Regions from separate parts of the Homo sapiens genome. Here all the other regions are linked to region 3. The links are contacts of gene promoters, found by promoter capture Hi-C in blood cells and fetal thymus (Javierre and others, 2016). All regions are on one chromosome and are shown on one strand. The core of a region is centred on a gene start or on the middle of the fragment in contact, and the rest is flanking DNA. Distances in the headings are between cores, read along the strand shown. Region 1 holds the start of LRCH1 (leucine rich repeats and calponin homology domain containing 1). Region 2 holds the start of EPSTI1 (epithelial stromal interaction 1). Region 3 holds the start of NUFIP1 (nuclear FMR1 interacting protein 1).

The links. The method cuts DNA at HindIII sites, captures the fragments that hold promoters and counts their contacts. A CHiCAGO score of 5 or more calls a contact.
Region 1: the fragment with the promoter of LRCH1 here is called in contact with the fragment with the promoter of NUFIP1 in region 3 in 3 of 17 cell types (naive CD8 T cells, activated CD4 T cells and total CD4 T cells); the score reaches 11.4 in naive CD8 T cells.
Region 2: a contact is called between the fragment with the promoter of EPSTI1 here and the fragment with the promoter of NUFIP1 in region 3, in 3 of 17 cell types (naive CD8 T cells, activated CD4 T cells and naive CD4 T cells). The highest score is 13.7, in naive CD8 T cells.

Annotation. Positions count from the first base shown.
Region 1 is chr13:46,550,665-46,555,002 of GRCh38, forward strand. LRCH1 (leucine rich repeats and calponin homology domain containing 1) reads left to right here and starts at 2,506. Exons shown (of 20, transcript NM_001164211.2): 1 at 2,506-3,039. The coding sequence starts at 2,733. RefSeq lists silencers at 2,450-2,639, 2,700-2,759 and enhancers at 2,963-3,663, 3,320-3,639. The HindIII fragment of the contact is 3,547 bases long and covers 1,351-4,338 here.
Region 2 is chr13:42,990,958-42,995,842 of GRCh38, forward strand. EPSTI1 (epithelial stromal interaction 1) reads right to left here and starts at 1,284. Exons shown (of 11, transcript NM_033255.5): 1 at 1,021-1,284. The coding sequence starts at 1,208. RefSeq lists enhancers at 1,298-1,417, 1,678-1,917. The HindIII fragment of the contact is 6,494 bases long and covers 1-3,840 here.
Region 3 is chr13:44,987,145-44,991,643 of GRCh38, forward strand. It overlaps NUFIP1 (nuclear FMR1 interacting protein 1), which reads right to left and starts at 2,327. Exons shown (of 10, transcript NM_012345.3): 1 at 1,881-2,327. The coding sequence starts at 2,292. It overlaps GPALPP1 (GPALPP motifs containing 1), which reads left to right and starts at 2,394. Exons shown (of 8, transcript NM_018559.5): 1 at 2,394-2,598. The coding sequence starts at 2,511. RefSeq lists enhancers at 1,865-2,503, 2,128-2,197, 2,388-2,577, 2,504-3,140. The HindIII fragment of the contact is 7,208 bases long and covers 1-4,499 here.

The sequences.
Region 1 (4,338 bases), core at 1,256-3,755, 1.6 Mb after region 3:
TTATTTGTTGAATCTTCCAGGCAGCGGATTTTTTTAAAAGGGCCTGATTCCTGCCCTTAATAGCAAAAGGGTGCTGTTTTCAGAATAAGTAAACAGGGTATTAAACAAAAGAGAGATGTCCATCTTCTTGAAGAAATAGTGAAGAAGCAAGACAGCAAGGGGAAATGGCTTGTCGAGTTTCTTTAATATTTAGAAATAATCAAGATCATTTTCAAGGGTCAAGTACTCTCTCCCATTTTAAGAAAAACTCCTTCATTCAGGGAAATCATTTGAAACTTTAAAGATGTATCAACAAGTACCCCATAAATTTATACAAATAAAAAAGGACATATCAACAGGTGGCAAACCTGTTAAACACATGGTCTATTATGCAATACTTAATTGATTACTAATATTAATTGTGCACTCATTATATACAAAGTACTCCCCTCGATTCTGAGGCATGGGGAGAGAGTTGCAAAGATGAATAGGTCCCTATTTCATGGAATTTACAGTTTAGTAATCTGTAGATGGGTAAACAAACCACAATGAGTAGGTCAATCTAACAGAGGGACTGATCATTTGTTAAAAAGCAAATCGTGGGCTCATATGCAATCCATTATTTTCTTTAAAGAAGAATTAGTGGTCTTTTAAAAAAATATGTATGCTTCCTATGATGCATCACAACGACTCTTAGTCTGAACTAAATTTGCAGTCAGCCAGAAGATGTCCCAAATCATGTCCTGACTGCTGATCACACAGACTACCACCTGGTTTCAGCTGAAGATTCTTTTAATTGGATTTTTTTCTGTGTTTCTGTTTTTCACTGGATTTTGTTTTTCTCTGTTCCTCTCCCTGGAGGAAAGTGGAAATTTGGTTACTTTTTTGTGATGGAAGTATACTTTCATTTATTATTATTGTCGTTATTATTATGAATTTTGAAGCCGGACTTTTAAAAGCCTGGAAGGCTGCGGCGAATGGCATGTGAGAGGGGAGGTTTGCGGGAGGATACCAGCAGGTGGCGCGTGTCTCCTCCGGGCAGATTAGAATGCTTTGCTCAGGGCCAAGAATCCCGCAGGAATTAAGGGCAACTATCTGTGCAGTCAATTCAAGTGACACAGATCATGCCATACTTAAGTGCCGAGTCCATGAAGTCACCAGTTCCAGCCTGTTGTCTAGGCCATCAAACTTATGTATTACCACTTAAAAAACCAGCTCCCCTACTCCAAGGGTTGCATTACTTTCGTGCTTGACACCCCGACAACCCCGCACCCACCCCCCGACTCATTTTCCCCAAGCCAAGTCGCTCATAGGGGACAATCAAGCCTTAAGAATAGAGCAAAAATAAAGGCCCTGGAAAGTTGGACATGAAGCTTTAACTTCAGGAAAGGAATGGTATTCTATTAATCGTCCAGCTGGTCTGCCCTTAGGGTGTCAGATGTTCTCTGTCGCCCCTGGTGTGCCAGCATTGGCCTGGGTGCCACTGGGTGGCTGATGGCAGAATGTGAATTCACTTGCAAGCGGACATGTTCGTTTCCATGCCCCAAAGCGGGAAGAAGAAGGGCACAAGGAGACTTCGATGGTTCTTTCAGCTCAGACTCGAGCTGTGACTGATTTGCTGTTTGGGGTCACTGGCTTTCTAGCCTCTCCTGGCACCACCCAATTTCGGGGAGCAGCCAGCTCATCTTTCTCCTACGACAATGTCTTCTGTCCCCCATAAACACTGCCCTCATTTTGAGTTTTTCTTTCCTATGTCTGTAGCTTTCTTCTGCCGCTCAGCAAACACTCTGTCCCACTCGTATTCGTCCCTTGGCGCTGGCGTCTGGCCCAGGGGTACACTGTGAAGGAGGGCAACCCTAGATTCTGAGGGCCCTAGCTCGAATCTAGCGCCCCTCTAACTGCAGGGGTGACCTTAGATACATTTATTAACTTCCTCTGTAGACTCAGGGGAACAACTTTGGCACTCCTGGGGTCCCTGGATTAATGAGGTAACTTACGTAGACTCCCTAAACAAGCGTCTGGTTCATTGTAAGCGCCCAAATGCCAGGGGGCATCTGCAGGGATGACCCCATAGTGAATGAAAACTGCCTCTTGGGGATCTCTGGGTTAAACGGCCAGAATAAATCGCAGAATTGAGAGAACCCTCTCCTGCCCCAAACCTCACTGTACTGTAAATCCCATTCATTGCCTCCCGCCGTTTTATCCGTGTTCTCAGACCACCCCCCTATCCCCGCAACCTCCAGTCCCCTAAAGCCTCCTGGGCGGCAAAAGGACGCCCAGAGAGAGGTTCGGCGCCTCAGTTGCCCCGGAGCAGACGTCCAGCCCCGCCGTGTACCCGATTGCGGGGCGGATCGCGGCAAGGCGGCGGCGGCCGGCAGAATAGGCGCGGAGGAAGGCTCAGGCGGGGCAGACTGCGTGGGGGAAGGAGGAGGAGAGAGCAGACGGCGGAGGAGGGCAGAGCAGCCGGGGGGAGGGCGCAGGGGCGGGAGGAGACACATGCGCGCTGCCGCCGCCGCCGCCGCCGCCGCAGTCCTTAGCTTCCCGGGGACAGGAAACCTTCAAGACCGAGCTGCCACGGCCGCCTCCCCGCCCGCCCCCCATTCTACGCGCCTGCCCACACCCTCCTCCCCTCCTTCCAGCGCCTTTCGGTGGAGCACTGCGGCACTCAGCCCGAGCTGCCGTTTTCCCCTCGCGGGGAACGCTGTGACCCCCCCGCAGGAGCGGCGGGGCGGGGTGGGGGGGCCCGGGAGAAGATGGCGACGCCGGGAAGCGAACCCCAACCTTTCGTCCCGGCCCTTTCGGTAGCTACTCTGCACCCACTTCATCATCCCCACCACCACCACCACCACCATCAGCACCACGGAGGAACCGGCGCCCCCGGCGGGGCGGGTGGTGGCGGCGGTGGCAGCGGGGGCTTCAACCTGCCCTTGAACCGGGGTCTGGAGCGCGCGCTTGAGGAGGCGGCCAACTCCGGGGGGCTGAACCTGAGCGCCAGGAAATTGAAGGAATTTCCCCGTACCGCAGCCCCCGGGCACGACCTCTCGGACACGGTGCAGGCAGGTGAGTGAGGGCCGAGGGGCGGGCAGGGGTGTGGGTGCTGTCTGGGTGTCTGTCGTGCGTTCCCTAACGCGGTGGACAGTCGGAGATCTTGTCTTGCTGGGGGAGGGAGGGTCCATCGGCCCGTTGTCTCCCGAAGAAGGGACTCGCGTGGGCGCGGAAGAAGCGGGCCCTGGAGAGGGCACGGGGGCCCTGCCTGGTCCGGCGATGCAGTGCCAGGAGGGCAGGGGTGCGCCGGGCCTCTGCGCCTGAGAGCGAGGGGTCTCCGGCTCTCCACCCTGTGGCTGCCGCGCCAGGGAAGTAACCGCGGGGCTGGGACTTGCAGGCGCGCCGCGTGCGCGCAGTGTAAGTGGGAGGTTTCAGGCGGCTGTGTCGGCTTCCTGGGCCCCGCGCAGGGCTGGGAACTCCAGCGCGGACAGCGGCGTCGGCGCCTCCAACCAGTTCAAGCCGTCTTTGCATCGAGGCGTAGCCCATCCTGGTGGGGAAACCCAGACAAAGGTGGCACGCCCTCGGCCGAGCCAGGGGCATCGGCGCAGTGCCGCGAGCCCCCTCGGCGACATCGCCGAGCGATCGGGCAACTCGGTGCCGCCTGTGAGGTGCCCAAGTTTCCTCTCCCTGCGCTTGTGCGGGAAAAGAGCCGCCGGGCTTGTAGTGAATCCCAGTCGGCTGCCGCTTCGGAAGCGATCGGCCCTCTTCCTTCCGTGCCTTTTGCTCACCGCCCACACAGTTTGGGTCCTACCACCGAGGCTACCTGGTTCTCAGTTACCCAACCGTTGCGGGGGCCCCAGGAAAGGACGGCGTGGCATATTAAAGGCAAAGTAATTAACGTGAGCCTGTTTTCCTGTGTGAGCCCGGCAAGTTGTAACTCGCGCCAATAAGCAGCATAACTTTTTCAAGTTACGTCATGTGTTACATACTTCTAAAACGTCTGCTTTCTCTTTGGTAGTTGGAGTTCCAGGAGCGGGATCTATAAACAGGAAGGAGGGTGGTGGAATAGGATTGGGGCCTTAGGGTCTATACAGAACTGACTTGGTTTCCGGCCATCCGGTTCCGCTCCCTGGGGGAGGGTTTGTGTCATAGCAAGCGCCCAACATTTCCCAGGGCAGTGGGTGCTCCGTTTTGGAGCCGCTGCCCAGACCTCTTGGCTGTCATCGCCTCATGGCCCAGGGTCAGACCCCCTGGGTCTTGGATGGGTTGACTCTCATCACAGGAGCACCCAGTTTAATCTTGTAGTGGGCAAGGGAGCAGGCAGTGGGTTTTTGGAGGCTAGGTTTCCAGTGTCTTTTCCCCCTTTTAATTCAA
Region 2 (4,885 bases), core at 34-2,533, 2.0 Mb before region 3:
GGCTCATGACACTTGCTTAATAAATGTTTCCCGGATACTCACTGCAGTCCCTGAACCAAAGACCAGGAATAAAAGCTACCTATCTGTTCCTGCATAGAGCACATATCAACATCAGGGATGAGAGGTACTATGGTCACTCACCTCCTCACTCTCTCAGCTCCACTCCTCTGGTTGTAAGAGGCTAGTTTATCTGCGAGTCTTGCTGGGACGTAGGCTTGCTCCTACCTAGAGGCAGAATTTGAACCTTCTACCCCATATCACATTTCTTGTTGACCCTTACCTGTTAGTGTCTGATACAGTAATTCCGTTTAGGACACCAAGTTTTGTTTTTCTGTTTTGTTTTGTTTTGAGACAGTCTCGCTCTGTTGCCCAGGCTGGAGTGCAATGGCGCAATTTCCGCTCACTGCAACCTCCGCCTCCCGGGTTCAAGCGATTCTCCTACCTCAGCCTCCCAGGTAGCTGGGACTACAGGCACGTGCCATCACACCCAGCTTATTTTTTATTTTTAGTAAAGACTGGGTTTCACCATGTTGGCCAGGCTGGTTTCGAACTCCTGACCTCAGGTGATCTGCCTGCCTTGGCCTCCCAAAGTGCTGGGATAACAGGCTTGAGCCAACGCGCCTGGCCCAGCACCAAATTTTTAAAAACAGTAAGGGAAAAGTTATTTCCATACTGGTTGGAGTATGAGTTCTGGAGATACCTGGAAAATGACATCTTACTGGATGCCTAGGCAGTTCCGACACACCCATATCTTTCAATCCTGTAGCCAGTCACAAAAATCAGGAAAGTAGTATTCCTGGAAGGAACCGGGCTGGTTATTTACCAAAGGACTGCAAACTAGCCGACTCAATTTATAAGGTGCGGCATGGATACTTTCATTTAAGCAAATGAGCTTTCATTCAGTCAAAATCCCTGTTGTTGGGCCCCTGTGGTTTTAAACTCCAAGGACCAAGGTGCTTGTGAGTGAGTATGTTTGGGGCCCGGGCTCCCGCCCCGAAGCCAGGTTGTTAAAATACTCACCGCCTCTGGCCCGCGTGCACGACGCTCTCCCGCGAAGGGCCCTTAGGGGCTGCCTCCAAACCCTCTCTCTGGTCTTCCACGGGGCTCAGCTCCCCTTGCCGCCCAGAAGGGTCCTGGGGATCCCGGGTCGGGCGGGAGGCAGGGGAGGCGCCGAGCCCGGAGTTCACCACTCTATTGCGGGTGTTCATGGTTCACAGCCCGCGGGTCCCGGGCCGCCGTCGCTGCGGGAGGGATGCGGCTGGGACGCTTAGCGAGTCTCAAGATGGGATTCCAAAGTGCAGAGGCAGCGGTTTTAACAGCTGAGTTTCGGTTTCTCAGAATCAGCAGCAGACTGCGCCCGCCCCAGAGAACTTCCCCACGTATTCTCCACTGAGGCCCCGTCCGACCTTATCGCGGGTTAACAGCCCAGGATGTTGACTTGAGCTGGCTTGGTCGGCTACAGGTGAGACGGTTTAAAGTCTCACAATCACCTTAGAGGTTAATCAGAATAACTGGGATCAGCCACGGACACCTGGTGAGCGATTAGCCCGCAGAGTGACTACAATCCTGAAAGATACTTGAGAAACTGTTTAACAGGCAACTCTAATTTGAGGTTACCGCTGGATATTTGAGACTGTAAAAAATATATTAACCTTAAAATACCAGAGATTAGGTCAATAACTAAAATCATCTCAACAAAATGTCGCCTTTTATCAGTAATGACTGCTGTGTGGCTGTTACCAATGCACATACTTTCAAGTTAGAGGAAATGGAAACTGAAATCAAAAGAAAACAAAAACCTACAAAGCCGGAGAAGTAAGCTAAGGTAGACATGATTCTCCAGGCAGCCTTGCTAAGTAATTGACTAGACATTCGAGAACTATTAAAAATACCTGCTCTGTGCAGAACAGTGTGCAACGGTGATGTGGGGACATTTTAAAATATGGATGTGTAAGGCTCAGTTCCTGTAGGTTCAGGGGTGAGCTCTGGCATTCATATTTTTGAAAAGCTCCCAGATGATTCTGATGTGTGCCAGGGTTGGTCACCAGGGTCACAATGCCGTCTACACAAAGATGAGTGAAGGCTCTTCCCTCATGCTACCTGCATTCTAGGAGTATCCTAGTAGACAGGTAAACAAATGGGAATGCCACTTTGGGATAAATGAAATGACAGGCAGCTGTGGAGGCACAGAGAAACTGGGGATTAGCCCTCTGAGTAATTCAGGAACAGGGACATTTGAGAATGAGCCACCAAAGACATAGGAATTCACCAAGAAGAAGGAGATGCTATGGCAGAGGCTTGTCACTTAAAATGACATGGTGTGTACTTAATTCCAGGGGTTGTCATGTGGCTGGAGCACCCCAGTCCTAGGTCAGCAAGACAGTTAGGAGCTGGACTGTCTTCCTTATATTATTGGTGCTTAGAACAAAAAGACACATACAGGTTTGATAGCTAATGAAAGAATGAAATTGAAGGGTGGGCCAGGGTGGGACAGGAGAGGAGAAAATAATGACAAGGAACATGGTAGGAAAGTCAGTCAGGATTTCTATGCCATCCTAAGACATTAGGGTTTTGTAGAGTAGGCCAGAGTTTCACAAATTTCAGTAAGCATCAGAACCACTTGGAGGAGGGTGCGTTAAAACAGATTTATGGCCAGGCACGGTGGCTCACTCCTGTAATTCCAGTACTTTTGGAGGCCGAGGCAGGAGGATTACCTGGAGATCAGGAGTTGAAGACCAGCCTAGCCAACGTGGCGAAACCCCACCTCCACCTGGGCGACAGAGAGAGACTCCATCTCAAAAATATATATATATAGTTTCTGATTCAGGTCTGGGATGGGGCCCAAGGATTTGCATTTCTAACAAATTTCCAGGTGATACCAATGATGCCAGTCTCAGGATCACCCTTTGGGAACCACTGTTGTAGGCAATGTGGAAGGCACAGGAAGTTTTTCAATAGGGCAGTTACTCAATAATATCTGTTTTACAAAGTTAGCTTCTAACAATGTGAAAACGGAGATTGAAAGATGAAGAGACTGAAATCGGGAAGATAAATTCAGAGCCTAGTTACGTCTAGGTAAGAAATACAGATCTGAGCTAAGGCAACCCAGAAAGTGGGGAGCAAAATCAAGACATTTCACATGGGCCAGGCTCAGTTGCTCATGCCTGTAATCCCAGCACTTTTGGAGGCTGAGGCAGGAGGATCACCTGAGGCCAGGAGTTTAAGGCCAGCCTGGGCAGCATGGTAAGACCTCATCTCTACAAAACAAATAAATAAAACATAAAAGACATTTCACATGAGAGATTAGCATAGATAAAAACTAGATGAAAGAGAGAATTGAGTACTGGAAGGCAGCAGAGAGAAGGGGAGATGGCTTTTATAGTGCTTTGAGACCAGCTTTGCCACATACTGGCCACACAACCAAGGCCAAATCTCTTAATTCCTCAGAGATCCAGTTTCCTCCTCTGCCTCATGTGGGTATTGTGAGGAATAGAGATCATCCACATCAGTGGTTCTCAAATGGAGTTGATTTTTCCTCTAGCAGACATCTGGCAATGCCTGGACATATTTTTGATTGTGAAGCCTCAAAGTGGGTAGGTGCTGCTAGCATCTAGTGTGTAAAGGCCGGGGATGCTCCTAAACATCCTACAATGCACAGAATAGGCCCACATGACAAAGAGTTGTCCTGCCCCACGTGTCAACAGTGTTGAAGTTGAAAAATCCTGATCTTCACAGTATGCCTACCTTATAGCCCCAGTAATTTAATGGTTGCTGTCTTTATGGTGACTTTTAGCTTTGTGACTGGATACGAGGTAGAACCATTAACCTAGAGGAGGGACAAGCTTTGAGGGAAGTTCTAAAAGTCTGTTTAGGTGCTGTTGGGTGTAAGGTACCAGCGGGGTGAGAAACGCAGACCTAGAGATCAACAAAAAAGAGGAACAGCAGGGCCTTTCTGGAGGCCATCTTCCACATTGTTCTTTACTAGGAAAATACCCCTGGAACTCTTGTTTCAAAGGAGAAAATTATTTTGGTGGTTGGATGAAATTTAAAGTTTGAGGAAGGGAAAACCCACACTGGGGGAAAACTGATTCTCCTAAAGGAGCTAGTAATAGGGATGTTGGCCTCAAGAATATACTTAGTTAACCATATTTGTTTCACAACACAACCACATGTCACACCAAAGTTTCAAACCTGAGATTTCTCACTCCATTCACTTCTTGTTTTACCTGAGATTTCTCACTCCATTCACTTCTTGTTTTGCCACATTCTCAAAGTGTTTTAAAAAATGTGAATGTGAGGCTGGATGCGGTGGCTCACACCTGTAATCCCAGCACTTTGGGAGGCCGAGGCAGGCGGATCACGAGGTCAGGAGATCGAGACCATCCTGGCTAATACGGTGAAACCCTGTCTCTACTAAAAATACAAAAAATTAGCCGGGCGTGGTGGTGGGCGCCTGTAGTTCCAGCTATTCCGAAGGCTGAGGCAGGAGAATGGCGTGAACCCGGGAGGCGGAGCTTGCAGTGAGCCGAAATCATGCCACTGCACTCCGGCCTGGGTGACAGAGCGAGACTCCGTCTCAACAACAACAACAAAAAAAAGTGAATGTGATTTATTATGGCAACAGACATCTACAGGCTCCTTTTGGATGCCCGAGAATGGGCTACTTGTGTATCATCCATTCTTTCACCGTAGGTGTGTGCATTTGGGCGAAAATAAGGGCTGGCCTTTTACTGGAGTTGTTCTTGGGTGCGTTTTTCTATAGTAGTGGCTGGTGGAGAGAAGCAGAGGTGAGTGGGGAGGGTCCTGGGCCCCTATCCCTATTTAGCCAAGTACTTTAGCCCCTTATCTCTTCTACTCACTAGGCCACTGCCTAATTTTGTTTGAG
Region 3 (4,499 bases), core at 1,077-3,576:
AGGAGGATGGATCACTTGAGGTCAGGAGTTCGAGATAAGCCTGGCCAACATGGTGAAACCTTGTCTCTACTAAAAATACAAAAATTAGCCAGGCATGGTGGCGGGCACCTGTAGTACCAGCTGCTCGGGAGGCTGAGGCAGGAGAATCACCTCAACCTGGGAGGTGGAGGTTGCAATGAGCCAAGATCACGCCATTGCACTCCAGCCTGAGCAACAGAGACTCTGTCTCAACAAATTAAAAAAAAAAATAAATAAAGTGCCCAGATTATAGGTGTGAGCTACCCTGCTCAGCCTAAAGTATTTTTTAATCAAGGTATGTAAGTTGTTTTTTAAGACATAATGGTATTGCACACTTACTAGACTATGGTATAATGTAAAAATAACTTTTTTGCCCCATAGGATCTGCAGGAAAACATACTTTTACATGCAACGGAAAACCAAAAAAAAAATAATTGTGTGACTTGCTTTACTGCAGTGGTCTGTAACTGAACCCACAAGAGCTCCAAGGTATCCCCAGATCTAGAATCCAACTACTTCTCACCATCCCTTGGGCTTCACCCTGGTCCAAGTCTCCAATATCTCTTGTTTAGAAAAGTAACTACAATAGCTTCCTAACCGGTTTCCCTTTCAGTCAGTTCTCACCAACAGACACATTAATCCTCTTAAAACGTAAATCAGGTCATGTCAATCCGCTGTACTACCCACCTCACAACAGTAAAAGTCAAAGTCCCACGATCTACAAAGACATACCAGGTCTTACCCTCCTCCCCCATCTTCTACAATTATACTCCAGACTCAGTCCTCTGTAGCCACACTGGTTCCCATTCTGATGTATAGCTTCTAAGCCTCAAGACCTTTGCACTTGCAGTTCCTTCTGCCCGTACCCCTATTCTCCCAGTTGTATGCATGGCTGTGATCTCTCACCTCCCTAAAGTCTTCGCTCATATGTCACCTTCCTTATGACTAACAATGACATTTAAAACTGCACTACCTGGCCCGGCGTGGTGGCTCATGCCTGTAATCCCAACACTTTGGGAGGCTGAGGCGGGCGGATGCCTGAGCTCAGGAGTTAGAGACAGGCCTGTCCAACACGGGGCAACCCCCTTTCTACTAAAAATATAAAAAATTAGCCGGGTGTGGTGGCGTGGGCCTGTAGTCCCAGCTACTCAGGAGTTTGAGGCATGAGAATTGCTTGAACTCGGGAGGCAGAGGTTGCAGTGAGCCTCTCTGCAGAGACTGCATAGGCTGGAGTGAAGTAGATCGCGCTACTCTTCACTCCAGCCTGGGCGACAGAGCGACACTCTGTCTCCAAAAAAAAAGAAAAAAAGAAAATCCTGCACTACTTACCATTCTTCTTTGTTTTATCTCTCTCCATGCCACTCAACCTTCTAATGCACAATATTTTATTTTGCTTATTGTCTGTCTTCCTACACAAGAGAGATAATATTAAGCTCCATAATATTTTTTGTATGTTCTGCTCACTGCTATATACCCAGATTCTGGTACATAGTCGGAATTCAATAAATAACTGCTAAATGGAATTAACAGTCAACAGGAAAACATTCTAGTCAGACATATTTTGAGAACAAAGGATTTACAATATTATATAAACTTAGTTGATAAAGCAGCCTCGACTTCCTGGGTTCAAGGAATCCTCCTGCCTCAGCCTCCCATGCATCTGCGACCACAGGCATGCCACCATGCCTGGCTAATTTTATTTTTTTTGTAGAGACGGGGGTCTCACTTTGCTTTGAGATGCTAATGACCAGACTCCAAGAGTGCAGAGGCAAGGCAGAGTAGAGAGAGGAAGCAGAGAAAGGGGAGAGGAAAGAACGGGGGAAAAAGGTAAAGGGGTCGACTCACGTGGAAAAATAGCCTACCTGCAGGGTTGAAGGACTTCTGATGCCGAGGAAACCTATCAGAAGACTGTCTCCAATACCACGATGTGGAAGCATGGAAATTCCAAGGCTGGCCGCTGGGTTGAGGCTGAGAATCAAGGGGAGACTGGGCGTCGAAGGGGGGTTGCGCCCCGGGAAGAATCTGGGCGTCGAAGGGGGGCGGAGCCCCGGGGAGAGACTGGGCCTCCATGGGGGGCTGCGACTCAGAGGAAGGCTTTGACCCGGCTGCGGGAAGCGAGGACGTAAGTGGTGGTGGCGGTGGCGGCAGCATTGCCCAGAACATCCAGCTGTCCCGCGGCGGGGCAGTGTCGCTCAGGGGCCCTAACGTGGGAGTCAGCTCGGGAGACGCATGCCACCCGATAGGAGTCTCGAAATCACTAGTCGGCTCAGCCATACCACTGGCGGGTCCGGAGTCTAGCACGCGACTGTGGAGCAAGCATTAGGCGTCACTTCCTTTACCGTGAACTACAAGGCTCAGCCAACCACAGGCTTTACGTCATTTCTCGGCGCCGGGAAACCTGCCATTCTTCGCTGCTGATCGCGGGATTCTTTTTGGATAGGGTTGACGTTCGTGGATAGACTCATATCTGTGACCAGTGTCCGCCACCGCGGATGGCAAGAGACCTGATCGGACCGGCCCTGCCGCCCGGCTTCAAGGCCCGCGGAACAGCGGAGGACGAAGAGCGGGACCCGAGCCCTGGTAAGCGGCGGCGTCTCCGCTGCCCACCAGGCCCATCTACCCACTCCCTGGCCGGGCCCTGCTCGCTGAAGAAAGTCGGAGGCCTAGGAGGGCGGAGGAGTGGGGAGTGGGCGCGGCCTGACCCGAGAGAACTTTTCTCTTCCCAAACAGTAGCAGGGGGGAGGAGGCTGGGGGACCCTCCTAGAAACGAGCTTTGGCGTGGTTTGGCTTCGTGATGATAATACATTCTCATTTAGCCTTAATATGAGCTGCACGCTGCCCTAACTGACTGATACCCACTCAGTCATTTAAGCCGTATAAGAAAAAAACTATTTTCCCATGTTGCAAATGGGTACGCCCAAGCCCATGCCAGTGTCTAGATCATACTGCTAGCAAGTGATGGAGCGCGACTTAGAAGGAAGCGGTTCTCTTAACCTCTGTGCCATATTGCCTTCTGATTACAAGAACCTTGCAGATCCTGTTCTCTCCAGCCCCCGACCTGCCTTCCTAGCCTCTCATTCTGTTATTGCATCTGACAAACACAGCCCAATACTCAATCCAGTCTGAGTTGCTGCGCAATTCCTTAACGCTCTAGGCTTCTGGGCTTCCTCTGGTTGCATTCCTAAACATAACTGACAAACTTCTCCCCATCCTTCAAGGCCCAACTTAAATGTCACACCAATAAAACCTTTCCAGATTCCCCGAAGCATTGTCATGCCTTTCTTTTTGCCCTCGGGTTTTTTCCTAATTACATTGCATATTTAGTACACTGTATTTGAATAATTTGTCGACATAATCTGTCTCCACCATTGCACTATGGTCTTCTACCTGAACACGCAACAGGCACTTGGTATATACGAAACGAATGCTTCTCGGATTCCGGCATGCATACCTATCTGCTTTAATGTTTATTCACATTTGTAGACTAGCACCGACACCCAGTTGGAGAAGAGTAAAGCTGAAAGAGTAACCCTGCCATTTCTGAATCTAATTTTTCTTCCTGGTCTACCCGGAGGCTATGTTTCTACTACAGGCCCCTTTCCAATATAATTTCTGTCATAACCACTTTAAAAATTATGCCTTCCAGCTGAGCGAGGTGGCACAAGCCTGTAATCTCAGCACTTTGAGAGGCTGAGACGGGGCGGATCACTTGAACTCAGGAGTTCAAGACCAGCCTGGCCAACATGTTGAAACCCCATCTCTACTAAAAATACAAAAATTAGCCGGGCGTGGTGGCGGGCGCCTGTAATCCCAGCTGCTCTGGAGGCTGAGGCAGGAGAATCGCTTGAACCCAGGAGGCGGAGGTTGCAGTGAGCCGAGAGTGCCACTGCGCTCCAGCCTGGGCGACGGAACGAGAGTTTGTCTCAATAAATAAATAAATAAAAGTAAATGTGAAAAATTATGCTTTCCTTCCTGTAGGAGATAGCTTTAAAAAAATAAAATAAGGCCAGGTGCGGTGGCTCACGCCTGTGAACCCAGCGCTTTGGGAGGCCGAGGCGGGCGGATCACGAGGTCGAGAGATCGAGACCATTCTGGCCAACATGGTGAAACCCTGTCTCTACTAAAAATACAAAAATTAGCCAGGCATGGTGGCACGTACCTGTAGTCCCAGCTACTTGGGAGGCTGAGGCAGGAGAATTGCTTGAACCTGGGAGGCGGAGGTTGCGGTGAGCCGAGATCGCGCCACTGCACTCCAGCCTGGCGACAGAGTGAGACTCTGTCTCAAAAAAAAAAAAGAAAAAGATTCTTCGTATATATTTGTTGAATGACTTCTCTTCGTCAAGCACAATATCTTACACGTAGTGTGTCATTTTAAACACATAATCTCCCCTGCTATAATTCCATTCCCTTCATAACCGCCTAGATGGCTGAACCTAAAACGGTTGCCAAAAAATCTTCATATATCATTTTTATTTCATCTA